5 separate regions of the Homo sapiens genome follow, and all the other regions are linked to region 3. The links are contacts of gene promoters, found by promoter capture Hi-C in blood cells and fetal thymus (Javierre and others, 2016). All regions are on one chromosome and are shown on one strand. Each heading gives the region's core, a stretch centred on a gene start or on the middle of the fragment in contact. The rest is flanking DNA. Distances are from core to core; before and after follow the strand shown. Region 1 has its middle 27 kb from the start of TMEM14A. Region 2 has its middle 44 kb from the start of GSTA2. Region 3 holds the start of PKHD1 (PKHD1 ciliary IPT domain containing fibrocystin/polyductin). Region 4 has its middle 29 kb from the start of TMEM14A. Region 5 overlaps LOC730101 (a long non-coding RNA gene).

Region 1 (2,805 bases), core at 46-2,545, 560 kb after region 3:
GAAGAAATAATGAAATGAAAACTAACTTTGTTGAAGATTAGGACAGTCCTTGGGATGGTATGTGATATAAGTTTTAAACTCTGTGTAAAAATAAAACCTGAGTGCAAAGCCTGTTGGATATATGTCTACTTCTGCCACATTCTATTTTCCAAAACCCAGCAATATCTTCTATTGAATTGGAAATTGTAGACTAATGTTAAGAAGGGCCTAATGTCAGCCCTCACTGCATTGGGCACCAGAGATGTGTTTAGTCACTGAGAAGCAGGACCTGGATAACTGCCACAGAGAAAACAGGGGCTGAGCTGTCCACACAGTGAAACTCACAAGGCACACAATGGCAAAGTCAGTTCATCCAAAGGACCTGTTGTAAACTGCTAGGCTGCGGCACTGAGATTGTGTGTCAGTTACAGATATCCAAGCTGCTTTGAAATCCAGGGAGCAGCTAATCAGTTAAAAAGCGTTCAACTGAGAAAAAACAAAACTTCAACCATACCCAACTGTGACTGTGATGGAGAAGATTAGCGCCTATCTGAAGGTGGTTTGTGACATTAATGTGTGTGTGTGCTGTGTAGGTTTGGTCTGAATAACCCCTTATTCACAGCACCATGATTCAGGTGCCCTGTCAATGCTTCCTTCTTCTCTCTAAATTCTCCTCCTTCAAGGTCTTGCCTCCATCCTCAAACAGTGTTGGTCCATCTGCTGATAAACATATGGAATAAGCAGGACTTGTAGACATTTTTAGACCCTATCTGGAGCAGTGAGAACTGTCTATTTCAGAAAAAGATAGAGACAAAAGCAGATGCAGAAAGGGAGGCAGACACAAAGAATGAAAGTGCCAAGTAAAGAAAGTGACAGGCAGGTTCTTGGAGACTGAGGTAGAGAAGCACAGACAGGATAAGACAGAGAAAAAATAAGGCAGAGACAGGGAGAACCCCAAAAAGAGAGAGAATAGAAAGAAACAGAGGTAGAAACTCTTGAGAAAGCTAGGCAGACAGTAATGACAGCTTCAACCGGTCAGTATTGGAGGGAGAGAGGAATAGAGAGAGGTAGCAGAGGAAGTCAGATAGGAGACAGCGGTAGTCCAAGAGAGACACATTCCGAGCAGAGGCAGACAGGGTGAAAGGGAGATGGAGGTCAGCAGAGAGCTAATGCCAGGCAGGAGTATGGAAAGTTTTGTGTGCATTTCTCCTAGAGAAATGAGAAATGGGACTGGTTTGCCAGGAGAGACAGCCTTTCCAGTCAGGACTCTTGAAGTGTATGATTGTAGTCATCCTAAATGGAAATGGGATTCCTTCCTCCCCAAGCCCATTCCTGCTCCATCTGGAGGGCAGTCTGGTGAATGTGGTTTTCTATGCTGGTATTCTGGGCCGTAGGAGGGCCTCACAGAACTGCAGAATGTTGGAACTGAGATCTGCATGGTAGATGTGTGTGGTTTCTTGGCCAGCCCCTCTTCACTTACCCTGTTTCCAGGAACGGCCTCCAATGTTTGTGGGGGATCCACCCTTCCCCACTTTCCATCCCTGTGGTTTTTGTGGAGTTGACAGTCCCTCCCTACCACCTCGCATTCCAGGGATGGTGTCCGACCCAGGACTGGCATATGATCCAGAGTGTCAGTTTCTCCTGTGGTCAGTGATTGGTTCAGGGATAAGAACATAACTCAGTCTCATTTTGGAGGGTCTGTTTGGGCTTCTGAGTTTGCCCTCAAATCCACATTTGAACCATGGAGACATGTTGGCTGGTACTGGGGCTGCCATCTTGCCGCCATGCATGGTCTGAAATGAAGCCAAACACATGGAGCAGTAGAGAGTAAAATAAAGAACAACTTGGTTCATGTGGCCTCTTTGGAACACTGTTCAAACTGTTTCTGAAGTTAGAACTATCTCTAGATTTTATTTGCAAGAGCCAATAGAGTAACTTTTTGCTTAACAGTTTAAACCAGTTTCAGTTGGATTTTCTGTCACTTGCAACTAAATCCTAACTGATGTAACGTCTTAGATACCATGCATCACCACATTTTATAGAAACTGAGTTTAAGTAATTCATCTAAGACTATGGCTAGTTAGTGGCAGGATATGAACTAGGTTTTTTCTACTATGTACCCCCTTAAACCCACTCTTTCATTCTCTCCACTTTATTTTATTTTTAAATTAAGATATAGGGCTCATTTCAAATATATGTTTTTACTCCAGTGACTTCATAAGTTCTAGAAATGCTAGCCCTAAGCAAAATTGCCACCTGATATGGTTTGGCTGTGTCCCCACCCAAATCTCATCTTGAATTGTGGCTCCCACAATTCCCATGTGTTGTAGGAGGGACCTTCATGGGGTGGGTCTTCCCCATGCTATTCTCATGATAGTGAATATGTCTCATGAGATCTGATGGTTTTATAAAGGGGAGTTTCCCTGCATGAGTTCTCTTCTCTTGTCTGCCACCATGTGAGACATGCCTTTCACCTTCCACCATGATTGTGAGGCCTCCCCAGCCAGGTGGAACTGTGAGTCCACTAAGCCTCTTTCTTTTGTAAATTGCCCAGTCTCAGCTATTTCCCCTTTCTGTGTGTCCTCTCTCCCTTCCTAAGCCATGGTAAGCAGAATATGACAGATATCATTGATACTTTTATGTGAGCTTACCATACAGAACATTTACCTTTTAAAAAAGAACAATAAAAAGATGCCAAATAAATAAATTTCTAATGCAGGAATTCCAAATATTGTAGCATGTGGTTAGAAGACATGCTTTGGAGTTGCCGAAACTTCTTGGAATTCTTTGAACTGTCAGCTCTGAGCACTAGGTCCAATATTTATT
Region 2 (2,849 bases), core at 295-2,794, 630 kb after region 3:
AACCCTGTCTCTACAGAAAAAATACAAAAATTGGCCAGGTGTGGTGGTGAGTGCCAGTAGTCCCAGCTACTAGGGAGGCTGAGGTGGATCACTTGAGCACAGGAGGATCTCTTACGGCAGAGGCTGCAGTAAGCCATAATCACACCACTGTACTCTAGCCTGAGTGTCAGAGTGAGACCCTATCCACTCCCCCCCAAAAAAATTCAAATAAACTCAAAATGAAAGTTTGAAACATGAGAAACAGACTGCTAATTTATTTAGAAATATATTTTTCATAGTGTGTGTTCATATGTCTATTATTCTAAAAATTATTTATACATCTAGAATAGAATGGCAAATCTCTAGCCTATTCATTCAAATTAGTATCTATTATTGATTTGAGGTGAGAGAATAATGAGAGTATTTAGCTATAACTGAATAAATCAGGTTAATTCATTTTAAATCATTTTAGTTGTGATTTTGGCTTTAATGTAAGCTCTCGCTTTATTTTAAGCTTAGGATAAATTGAAAATAATTCTCAGTATCTGTGACTTAAGTTTTAAGCATATAGTAAGCACATTCTAGAATATTTCCTGCATTTTTAACAACTGAACTTTTTGCTTGAGAGAAAGTGGTGACTTCCTCAGTCAAATGGCATCAAACAGAGCTCCAAGCAATCGGTATTAATAGAATATCATCTTGCACCAGCTTTCTCTAGCTCTTTCTTTCCTTTTGTAACTACTTCCAAATCTATCTTTTATTTGAGGGAAATTATTAAAAAAAAGACTCAATAGACTATGAACATCAATCATTTCCCTCTACCTATTTGCAAAAAAGGAGAGATGAGAAGTAATTACTCTGCATTTACCTTGTTCTAACCAGAAGAACTTTAGCAAGCAGGCAAAGCTGCTAAGTAGGTAATTTCACAGCTTTCAAGTGTGCCTCTAAAATAAAAAATCAAAGGCAATAATTCCATCTTTAACAGGTGTAAGAATAAAAGGAATTAAATAGACCAGTAATTACATGCCTTTTAAAATTATGTTTATCCTCAGCCTAGGATTCTGGAAATGTATCATCAGTCATCTTGGCATTATGCCTCCATTCTGCTTTCTACTCAAACTGGCTTTTAGTAATGAGGATTCTTGGGCAATTTCAGAGGAAGAATAAAGACTTTCCATTACATTAAAAAGTCAATCCAGTAAGCTAGCACACAGTACAAGCTCATGGTTCCTTGAATATTGAATACATATTTTCTGGTTTATAGAAAATCTTTATATCCTGCTTGTGATATAAAGTGGGATTTTTTTGCTCCCATGAAGATGGTGCCTCGGCACATACTGGTCTCACTTAGAAAGGTCTGCACTTCACTCTCCTTGCAGGACATTGCTTGGCACTAGTTACTAAATTGTTACCAACAGTGGAAAATAAAGCTTTGTAAAATAATCGGAGATAGCTAGATAAGCAAACAAGTTAGTTTATTTAAACTGTATTGAAAAAAAATTAAGCAAAATCAATTCTTTTTGTAAGAAGTCCCAATGACATGTTACATATTAATCCAATGTTTTAAAATTGTGAATCTTAAATCATGGAACTTCATAATTCAGTGCAATTCAGCCCTTAAACATTTGGTACACGTTTTCTTCATGTATGTGTATGTGTGTGGACCATATGTTTAAGTTCAAACAGGCATCCTTATACTGGAAGCTTCATTTTAAGAAAACTTAACATAAAAATACTAACTTATAAAACATGATATTAGAGGCAATTAACCACATTCACAGGTCTGCTTTTAGTTTTGAAATGATTTGGTGAGTTTAAGGGGGATGCTCTTGGAGTATATTTAAATTGTTCTGTTAAAATGTTTCGATTGACATTTACCTTCTCTGTGAGCTGTATCTGGCAAATAGCAGTCTCAGTTATAGTTATGAGTTAGTAGCTGCCCTGTTTGTGTCAGCATAATTCATTTATTTTAGAAATTTTACCAACATTCTTATTGCTATGGTCTGAATGTTTGTGTCCCCCTAAAATTCATATGTTGAAACCTAATCTCCAAGGTGATGCCATTAAGAAGTGGGGCCTTTGGGAGGTGCCTAGGTCATGAGGACAGAGCCTCATGAATGGAATTAGTGCCTTTAGGGCCATTATAAATGAGGCCCAAGGGAGTTTGCTGGCCCCTTCTACCATGTGAGGACTCAGTAAGAAGGCACTGTCTGATATGGTTTGGCTCTGTGTCCTCACCCAAATCTCATCTTGAATTGTAATCCCCATGTGTCAAGGGAGGGAAGTGATCTGATCATGGGAACAGTTTCCCCCATGCTATTCTCATGATAGTGAGTGAGTTCTCACGATATCTGATGGTTTTATGTGTTTGGTATTTCCTCCGCTTGCACTTCTGTCTCCTGCCACCATGTGAAGAAGGGCCTTGCTTCCCTTTTGCCTTCTGCTGTAATTGTAAGTTTCCTGAGGCCTCCCCAGCCTTGTGAAACTGTGAGTCAATTAAACCTCTTTCCTATATAAATTACCCAGTCTTGGGCAGTATTTTTATAGTGGTGTGAGAACGGACTAATACACCGTCTACGAAGAAACAGGCCCTCACCAGACACCTGCCTGAGCCTTGACCTCGGACTTCTCAGCATCCAGAACTGTGAGAAATTAATTTCTGTTGTTTATAAACACCTCAGTTTACGGCATTTTATTCCAGCCACTGAATGGACTAAGACACTTATCCACTAGACTCCAGAAAAGTAATTTAATTTAGTTTGGCAAATCCACACACTATGACTGATTTTCAGTTTTATCTTCATTCTTTTTTTGGTACAGAAGCAGATGGATTTTTCCTCATAAGTTTCAGTTATGCTTTCAAATAGCTG
Region 3 (2,792 bases), core at 33-2,532:
GAACTCCTGGCCTCAAGTGATCTCCCTGCCTCAGCCTCCCAAAGTGCTGGGATTACAGGCATGAACCACCACACCTGGCCATTTAATTTATATTTTTAAGAAAACACTGAGATTAGCAGAAGTAGTTACATCATTTCTGAAAATATAAAAGCTACAATATACTCCCCCCCTCAAAAAAAAAATCTGCAAAAACTTTGCAATAAACTCACCTTACGGGCATGTTCTGATTGAGACAGCTGGAAATCTATAATCATTTCTATTTAATTCAACACTGCAAACATTTATTGTATGCCCACTACGTGCTAAGCACTATACTAAAAGTTGGGAAAACAAACAATCTATGTACCTGCCCCCGAGTCATTACCAGATAGGGTAAGTGTGGAGGCTACTTGGATTTAAGAAAGGAATTCTAGTATTTTCAAGTGGATTCAGCAAGTGTTCCTTTTCGTTGCAAAATTCCCAAACTTTTACGTCTATTTGAAATAGAATTCAACTTATAAATATACAACTTTCAGAATACATCTACCACATAGGGAAAAGTACCCAAGCGTATTTGCTGCTTAGTCCAAAAGCATGAGATCTGACTTGCTTGTTACACAGACAAAATATACTCAGCACAGGAGAGTCTATTTTCAATCTGGCTACGTGATTTTAACATTTCTTCTTAATGCCTACTCCCAAGCTCAGAACAATAGAAATAAACATTCGCACACTGGTTTTCTTAAAACCCTACATTTGGAACTGCATCTTTTTCATGTCAATTATAAATGTAATTTTTTATTAGTCTATCCACTAATTCTTCCTAAAAATAAACTCAGACTCTCTTTATTTCTCATAACTAAAATTTTTCAACCACAGAGGAGAGCTGTGTGCATTTATTTAGTCATGTTTTTGTTCTCCTCTCTCTCTCTCCTCTCTCTGCTCTCACTCCCTCTTCCCTTCTTCCTCCCTTCCCTCTCAGCTTCTCCTTTGGGACATCGAGGGACAAAGTTGCAAGGCACTACTATAGATCTCCCATTTCTTCCTTTTGTTCACCAGAACGTTAACAAGAGATACAACACCTAGAAAACAGAGAGCAGAGACTTTTCTGGATCAAACAGTACCTTTTTTTTCTGTTTCTGTCTCCTTGTGACTCAAGGGAGAAATGATCCTTTCTTTCTAAGTGATCTTATTTCTCTCTGTCAAGAATCCGTGGACATGTTATCTGGTTAGAGCTCAGCCTGCAGCCACCACGCAGGTAACTCACTCACGTTAGACTATAACTCACCTAACTCGTTTGTGTCCCAGCCAAATGTGTACCAGAGTAAAAGTTCAGACCTGACCATGGGTAAGTTTAATGATTAACATAAGCCACTCAGGCTTTTTCCTCAGGGCTTGTTAGTAATGACCAAAGGAAAAGTGTCTTACATTTTTCTCCACTTACTGCATGTGCCCCAGATAAGAATTTTAAGTAAAAGTCCACCCAGTGAGACAAACAGGCATTCAACATTGAAAGAATTTGCCAGCAAATCAGCGATTGAACAGAGGGCTCAAGAGAAAGGACCACTAGAGGGCAGATCCCCATTCATGAACAGTCTCTCACTCTTCATCCCGAAGAGTGACTCGTAAATACCAGGTTATGGGCTGTTATTCATATACCCACTGTAGGGGTATGGGTCTAAAGAAGTACAGAAGGGAAGTAACTTGGTCCAAGTCTTGCTGAGAAAGGGTTGATTGATTCTCTTCATTTTTCTACTCCTCATCCTCCCTCTTGACCTTGCTTTTTTAACCAAGAGGAGGTCCTTGACTTGTACTCATCACCCTCCAGTCGTACCCAGACCATGGGCCTCAGTCATCGGTTGAACTGGTGGGCCTAGGAAGGTCAACAACACCTTCTTACTTGGTCCATGTCTGACTTCTCTGTTCCTGTCCCACTGCCCATTCTGATTCACATCCCCCAATTCCTGATCATGTTTGTCTACGTCTGGCGATACCTGACCAGAAGACGTCCTTATCTTCTATCCTCTCCCTTTCCTTTGAGGGAGAAGTCATTTTGGTAAAATTTGATAGCCCTGAGTCTCCACCTTCAAGGACCAGCAGTAGACCTGGAGAAGCATCTCCAGCAAAACCAGATTAAAGCCATGGAAATACGACCACAACTCTGATGACAGTAGTAAAACTATCCTCTAGAAAGTGTGGAAGTTTACATCAACTCTGCTGTATATCACAGTTTGGCAACCCGTGACAAGCTGAAAAATTTTTGTAGCCCTGAAGCTAGTGGTGTAGAGAGAGGGTGCTTGGCCAGATTGGGGCAGGTAGGGGGTCAGTCACCCCACCACCCTGCCTGCCTGCTGAACCTCTCTCAGTTTCCACTCTGGATCTCTTCCATGCAGGTCAACAAGCATCATTTGAACCACATTTGTGTGCCTGGCATGTGGGTAATGGGAAGGAGGGGGAAGACTAGTTTGGGGGTAAAGGAGATTTCAACATTATTAGTAACTTTTATTTTTATAAAAATGATATGAATCACTTAGATAATTCAAAGTTATATTTTTAAAGAGTATGACACAGTTTCTGCCTTCAAACTGCTTACCATCTGGCAGAGGAGACAGAAATATAATCAGATTATTTTATTATATTGTAGAGTCTCCTGATAAGTTTCCTAAGACTTATGTTTTATTTCTTGTTATTTCAACAAGAGGTTTCCATAAATTAGCCCCACATCTATCCTTGGCTAAAAGGCCTATAATAAATATTTATAAGTATTTTTGGCAGCCTAGCTATCAAGGCCGCATCCTAAAATCACCCCAATT
Region 4 (2,898 bases), core at 336-2,835, 610 kb after region 3:
TCTACTATTGTGCAGATATAACTTGCCTGGTAAACTTTTCAGCCGCAATTTGAATGCAGGCTACTCCCCTTAATTGGCTCAGATAAGTTACTCTCTTCTAATTTCAGTTTCCTAACATGTGAAATGAAGCTAATACCTACTGGTGGTGCTGTCATGATGGTTAAATGACATGATGTATAGTAAAGACTAACTCCCATCTTGGCTCAGTATTTGACCTTTGTTATTTTTTTTCTCATAACTTTCCCTTGGGTGGTGTTTGTTACCCCTTATTCCTAGTGCTAAAGAACAGGCAAATATTTGATTGTCTCATTACATACCTTCTCTTTAAGCCAAAGAGGCTTAGACATAGGAATTAAGTTGCAGCTAATCTTAGAAGTTACTTGGTAACAATCTAATAATAAAACAAAATTAACTTAAAAGATCCTTTGTTGCATATTTAAAGAAACATAAATCAAGCTATCTTTTCTTACCACTCACAAGAGTTTTTAATCAGTGTTATTGTTAGATTGTTACCAATTAACTTCTGGATACTTTCGCTTTAAAATACATTTACCAATTAAATGTGTGCATTTTGTATAGCATAATTTTAACATAAAATTGAAATACAATTAGTTTTCCTGTATTATTAATATTTTCTAGCATAGAGATGTAAAAACCCAACAAAAACTGGAAAATATTATTTTTCCCAGATTGTATTCTATCCGTTTTACAATAAAAAATAATTTGAAATGTTAAATTTTACAATTTGGAGTAATAAAAAATATTCAGAGAAGATGCTAATACATAGCTTCCTGGTCATAATTCCTAAGTACTTAATGTTAAATAGTGTTAAACCTTGATGTCCTATCACTCTCATTCCTATACCTGAAGACCAGCATTAACTTCAACTCTCAAACACAAGAGTAAGAGACATTTCAGTCTCAGGGAATTCTGCCATTTTTATAAGACAAAGAAGATGGATGTAAAGCTCTCTTCCCCTTATTTATTTAAAAATATTTTCAATATTATTGCAGAAGTGCTAAAACTCATTGTAGAAAAATTAGAAAATACGGATAAAAATTTTCAGCCACCCATATTGGCCTTTCTCTAAAAATGAGCAGATGTTTAGTAGACATATTATTTTCCTTATGACTATGTCTTAATGAACAGAAATGTGGCATTCAGAAGTAGAAATTGGATGCTTACTAAATTTAAAAATAATCTGTATGCAAGGGTAGAGTGTGAGTGTGAATATGGGGAGGGAGTTCGTCTTTATCCCCTCTGCTCTTTGTTTTTGCAAAATAAGTTCTCTCTGGGTCTGCTTTACAATCCCCAGTACTAGATGTTTTCTCTTCACTACCTTCGATGCTCCAAAACACTTCCATGTTTCAGAGAGTTGGTGGGTCTCTTTCTCTCTCTCATATTTTCACCAGGAAAAAAGGAAAGGCAGCAGCTGACATTATAATATTGGAGCTCTTCTTAACCAAAGCTTCCTTTGGATGCTTAGGAAGCCTAGAGAGGTCAAGTGACTTGCCTAAAGTCTTTCAGCTAAATGGTAGAAGAACCAGAGCTAGGTTGCCCTCTCACCAAGCCTACTACATCTTCAATATTATCATCTTGGTAAATGTGTAATTTTATGTAAATAATTATTATAAAAGGAAGTCATCATATTCCAAAGTTAACAAATATGAGAATATGGACAGTGATTACCAAGGTATAAAACAAAGCTTTCCAAAAAGCAGCATTTTTTTCCTAAACATGCTTTACTTTACTTATTTTTTCCTAAGCACTATTTACTTACAACTTACAATATTTATGAAGTGTGATGAAAAATGCATACATTTGTGATTTCAGTTTCTCCTACAATTTTTCATGTCAGGAACTCTGAGGTAACTTAGGCTATCTGATCCGGCGAGTCTCCAAGAATCAGAGAGGCAGAGCTCAATCTCCAATTCCAACAAGGGCTTTACCAGGGTAAGCCCTGAGAGGAGGTGGGCAGACCGCGGGAGGGTGGCAGGTTGGAGGGAGAGGTAGGGTTGTGGGAAATAGGAGGCAGTCCAGCCTGCTGGCATTCACAGTTCTAGGTCTGGACATGAAACTATATGGGGTACATCCAGATTTCTCAGACTAGATACTATCTGAAGAATTTTCTGCTACGTTTTGATTGAGTTTCGCCGGATCACACCAAAGAGGTTTCGCTCCTGAACTTTTAAAAATCTTCAATTTTATCTTTTGCTTAAAGGCTAATTGTGTGAGGAGCTGTGTTAGGTACAGCAGGGGCTCCAAAGACAAGCAAAGCACAGCCATTTCAGCAAAATTGTAAATCTTAGAGCATAATTATTAAACTTTTGAAAATTTACTCTGACTCATAACACAAGGAAATTTCAGGCACAGGAGGTGGCTATTGGCTACGGTCATGTGCTACATAATATTTCAGTCAACCATGGACTGCTTATACAATGAGATTATAATACTATATTTTTACTGTAACTTTTCTATGTTTAGATACACAAATACTTTTTTTTTTTTTGAGACACAGTTTCACTCTTGTTGCCCAGGCTGGAGTGCAATGGCATGATCTTGGCTCACTGCAACCTCCGCCTCTCGGGTTCAAGCAATTCTCCTGCCTCAGCCTCCCAAGTAACTGAGATTACAGGAATGCGCCATCATGCCCAGCTAATTTTGTATTTTTAGTAGAGACAGGGTTTCTCCATGTTGGTCAGGCTGGTCTCAAACTCCCAAACTCAGGTGATCCACCCACCTCAACCTCCCAAAGTCCTGGAATTACAGGTGTGAGCCACCTCAACCGGCCTCACAAATACTTATTATTGCATTACAGTTTCCTACAGTATTCACTACAGTAACATGCTGTTCAGGTTTGTAGCCTAATAGTAATAGACTGTACCATAAAGCCCAGGT
Region 5 (2,700 bases), core at 148-2,647, 580 kb after region 3:
AGGTCAGATAATGAGAATGGTTATAATACCAATGCAACCATGACCCCATCACTGAAGAAGAAGGCTAAACGACTATGTAATTTTGATGATGGATGGAAGGACACATACTACTGAACTAGGAAGGTAAATAACCAAAACAGAGCATACTACATAATATACAGAAAAAAATTTGAGATTGGACATGGTGGAGAAGGGGATGTGCAAGCACATATGGAGGGCAAATCTCACAAGTAAGATGGGACAGGTGAATGCTTCTAAACCAATCAAAAATACCTTTGTTTCCCCAAAAGACACCAATGCTCAGTCAAAAATAGCAGCTGCTGAATTAGCATGGGCATACCAGGCAAATAAGCCTGCATTGTCATAGCGTTCCCTTGATTGCTCTATGAAACTGAGTAAAGTTTCATTTCCTGATTCAAGAATTGCAGCTAAAATATCCTCTGGACAAAGAAGAAGGGAAATTTTTTGATAACAGATGTGTTGGCTCCTTACAGTATAAAGCCAATTTCTGTCATATCTCACCAACAATCCTGGTTTCTACAGTACATCAATTTTAAGTAATATGCCAAATCATGGCAGCAAAAATATGTTCCCTCTAGCTGTTAGGTACTTTGACTTGAAAACAGGAGTTTCAAATCATCTTCTTCATTTCTGTGAGGATTTTAATGAAACTGCTGAAATCATAAAATATTGTTGATATTTTGTCTAAATACAAACTAGACTTAGCTCATCTATCTGTGTATTCGTCAGACAGTATAGATGTAAAATTTTGGCAAATTGCATTCAGTCTACAAACTTCTTACCAAAGAAAATGAAAAGATCTTATCCATTCAATGCCTTGTACATCTTATATACAACACTGCTAAAAAGGGATGTGAGTTGCTTAAATGTGACATTGAGACTTTCATAATGAAAGCTTTTGGTTACTTTTCAATTTCCTCAAAAAGTGCAAAAGCACTTATGGAGATTTTTGACTTCACAGAAATGGAAGGTAACCTCTTTAGACGTGTGCCTGCAAGATGGCTGTCATTGTAAGTGAGCCATAGAAACGATGCTAAAATGTTGGCCTGCCATAAGATCATATTTTCAAAGGACAAGAATAATGTCCTTTGACATTGTTTGAAATCTGAAAGGAGAAAAAAATCAAGAATCTGAAGTGGGCCTTAAAAAAATCAGTAAGTCCCTTGTGACTCTGATTTTTATGAATCTGTCTCTCAAAAGCCAGGGTGCCCCCAGAAGAACTGAGACAAACTGAGTTTCTGAACATTTGAAAATGAGGAGCAGGCTCAGGATCCACAGGGTGTAACCATCCCGTGAGGCCCTGCCTGAGCAGCCAGCCAGTCAGTGAGGCTCTTCACCTTACTTCCATTTCTCTGATTCCATCTATGTACAACTTACGAAAACTTGCATTATTATAGACTGGGAGTTCTTAAATTGGAATCTGTGAATCTAAAGGGGCCAGAGGATAGAAATCAGGAAATCTGAAAACTTCGATGGAAAAAAGTTTTTATTTATTTCCATCAGGAAAATAGGCAACAAACCACAGCAGTATTAGTACCTGTGTCTCTGTCATCACTAGGAATCACAGATATCCACGTTACAGATATCTTAAAATATTTATGTACAGCACCACTCTGAAATTATGGTAATAATTAGATCCACCCCCTAGGTCTTGTAATCTTTAATATGTTAATAAAGAAGCACATCTATTATGTGACAGATTTAAATGTTTAAGAATTTGATTTCAATGAAATTGCATTTCAATAAAATTGGCTTCCTTTGCAATCCTGTGTATTTTATTTTGTGCATTTCTCCAGACTGCCAAAGAGGTTGGTGACACATTGAAAGTTAAGAGTCTCTGCTGTGGATCATGCATAGAAAGCTTTACAAAACAGTTGAGGGGAATAGGCTTTCCTGCATCCTTACCTTGGGCTGCAGCCTTTCCATTAGCTGGAGAAGGCAGCAGCTGGTGCCTATGAGTTGAGAGGGCAGTGGTCCCTTTGCCTAAGAACCATCCTGTTCCCACATATTCAAGGGTATGGAATTCCCATAATATTCAAAGAGTTTTTCTTTAGTTTTAGGTGATACGCCTTGAGTAGGAATATCATGAGGCTGTTTCCAGCTTCGAGTATGTTGGTGATAGGGTGTAAGGGATCTCAGAGCATCTAGTCTTGTCCATATCTTAAATCCAGGCACTGAGGTCCAGAGGGGAGTTATTTACCCAGGTCACATCAGATGAAGATAATGAAGTATTCCAAGAGGATTTTAGTTTTATTCCAAATAGGGTAAGTGTTCTGAGAGTGTGAGGAGAGAAGGTGAGGAGGCTGGGGTAAGGATGGGCATAGAAGGGGATGGAAAGGAGGGCTGAGAGAACTCAGAACCAAATTTCAGGCTATCACTTTCTCCACGCCACATTCCAGTGCCTTGCCATCAACTCTTCTGTGAATCTTCAGGAATTTTATTAATTCCCCAGGACCAACTTAGACTTTCATAAGTTAGATGTAGTTATATTACTTCCCTGAAGCACTTTTATGCACAAAGAATAGATGTAGCAAACAAACTTCACAAGATTTAATTTTTGAGTTTCCTTTTTTATTCTGAGGAATTCCGCTGTAATTCTCAGTGACACAGAACCTCTAGAGCTACTTCACTATGACAACCTTCTTCAAATCTCCAAAGGGCTGTTACATAAGGAAGAGG

The links. Contacts are between HindIII fragments. The CHiCAGO score rates a contact against its expected background, and 5 or more counts as called.
Region 1: a contact is called between a fragment that was not itself captured here and the fragment with the promoter of PKHD1 in region 3, in 1 of 17 cell types (total CD4 T cells). The highest score is 5.3, in total CD4 T cells.
Region 2: a fragment that was not itself captured here is called in contact with the fragment with the promoter of PKHD1 in region 3 in 1 of 17 cell types (non-activated CD4 T cells); the score reaches 5.3 in non-activated CD4 T cells.
Region 4: a fragment that was not itself captured here is called in contact with the fragment with the promoter of PKHD1 in region 3 in 2 of 17 cell types (naive CD4 T cells and total CD4 T cells); the score reaches 6.1 in naive CD4 T cells.
Region 5: a fragment that was not itself captured here is called in contact with the fragment with the promoter of PKHD1 in region 3 in 1 of 17 cell types (total CD4 T cells); the score reaches 5.5 in total CD4 T cells.

What each region holds. Positions count from the first base shown.
Region 1 is chr6:52,642,971-52,645,775 of GRCh38, forward strand. No RefSeq gene overlaps it. Among named protein-coding and RNA genes, the nearest start is that of TMEM14A, 27 kb to the right of the region's middle. The HindIII fragment of the contact is 3,233 bases long and covers 1-2,805 here.
Region 2 is chr6:52,717,671-52,720,519 of GRCh38, forward strand. No RefSeq gene overlaps it. Among named protein-coding and RNA genes, the nearest start is that of GSTA2, 44 kb to the right of the region's middle. The HindIII fragment of the contact is 274 bases long and covers 1,408-1,681 here.
Region 3 is chr6:52,086,331-52,089,122 of GRCh38, forward strand. PKHD1 (PKHD1 ciliary IPT domain containing fibrocystin/polyductin) reads right to left here and starts at 1,283. Exons shown (of 67, transcript NM_138694.4): 1 at 1,104-1,283. The HindIII fragment of the contact is 11,017 bases long and covers 1-2,792 here.
Region 4 is chr6:52,698,594-52,701,491 of GRCh38, forward strand. No RefSeq gene overlaps it. Among named protein-coding and RNA genes, the nearest start is that of TMEM14A, 29 kb to the left of the region's middle. The HindIII fragment of the contact is 238 bases long and covers 1,467-1,704 here.
Region 5 is chr6:52,667,371-52,670,070 of GRCh38, forward strand. It overlaps LOC730101 (a long non-coding RNA gene), which reads left to right. Exons shown (of 3, transcript NR_024405.1): 3 at 1-1,783. Among named protein-coding and RNA genes, the nearest start is that of TMEM14A, 2.4 kb to the right of the region's middle. The HindIII fragment of the contact is 966 bases long and covers 915-1,880 here.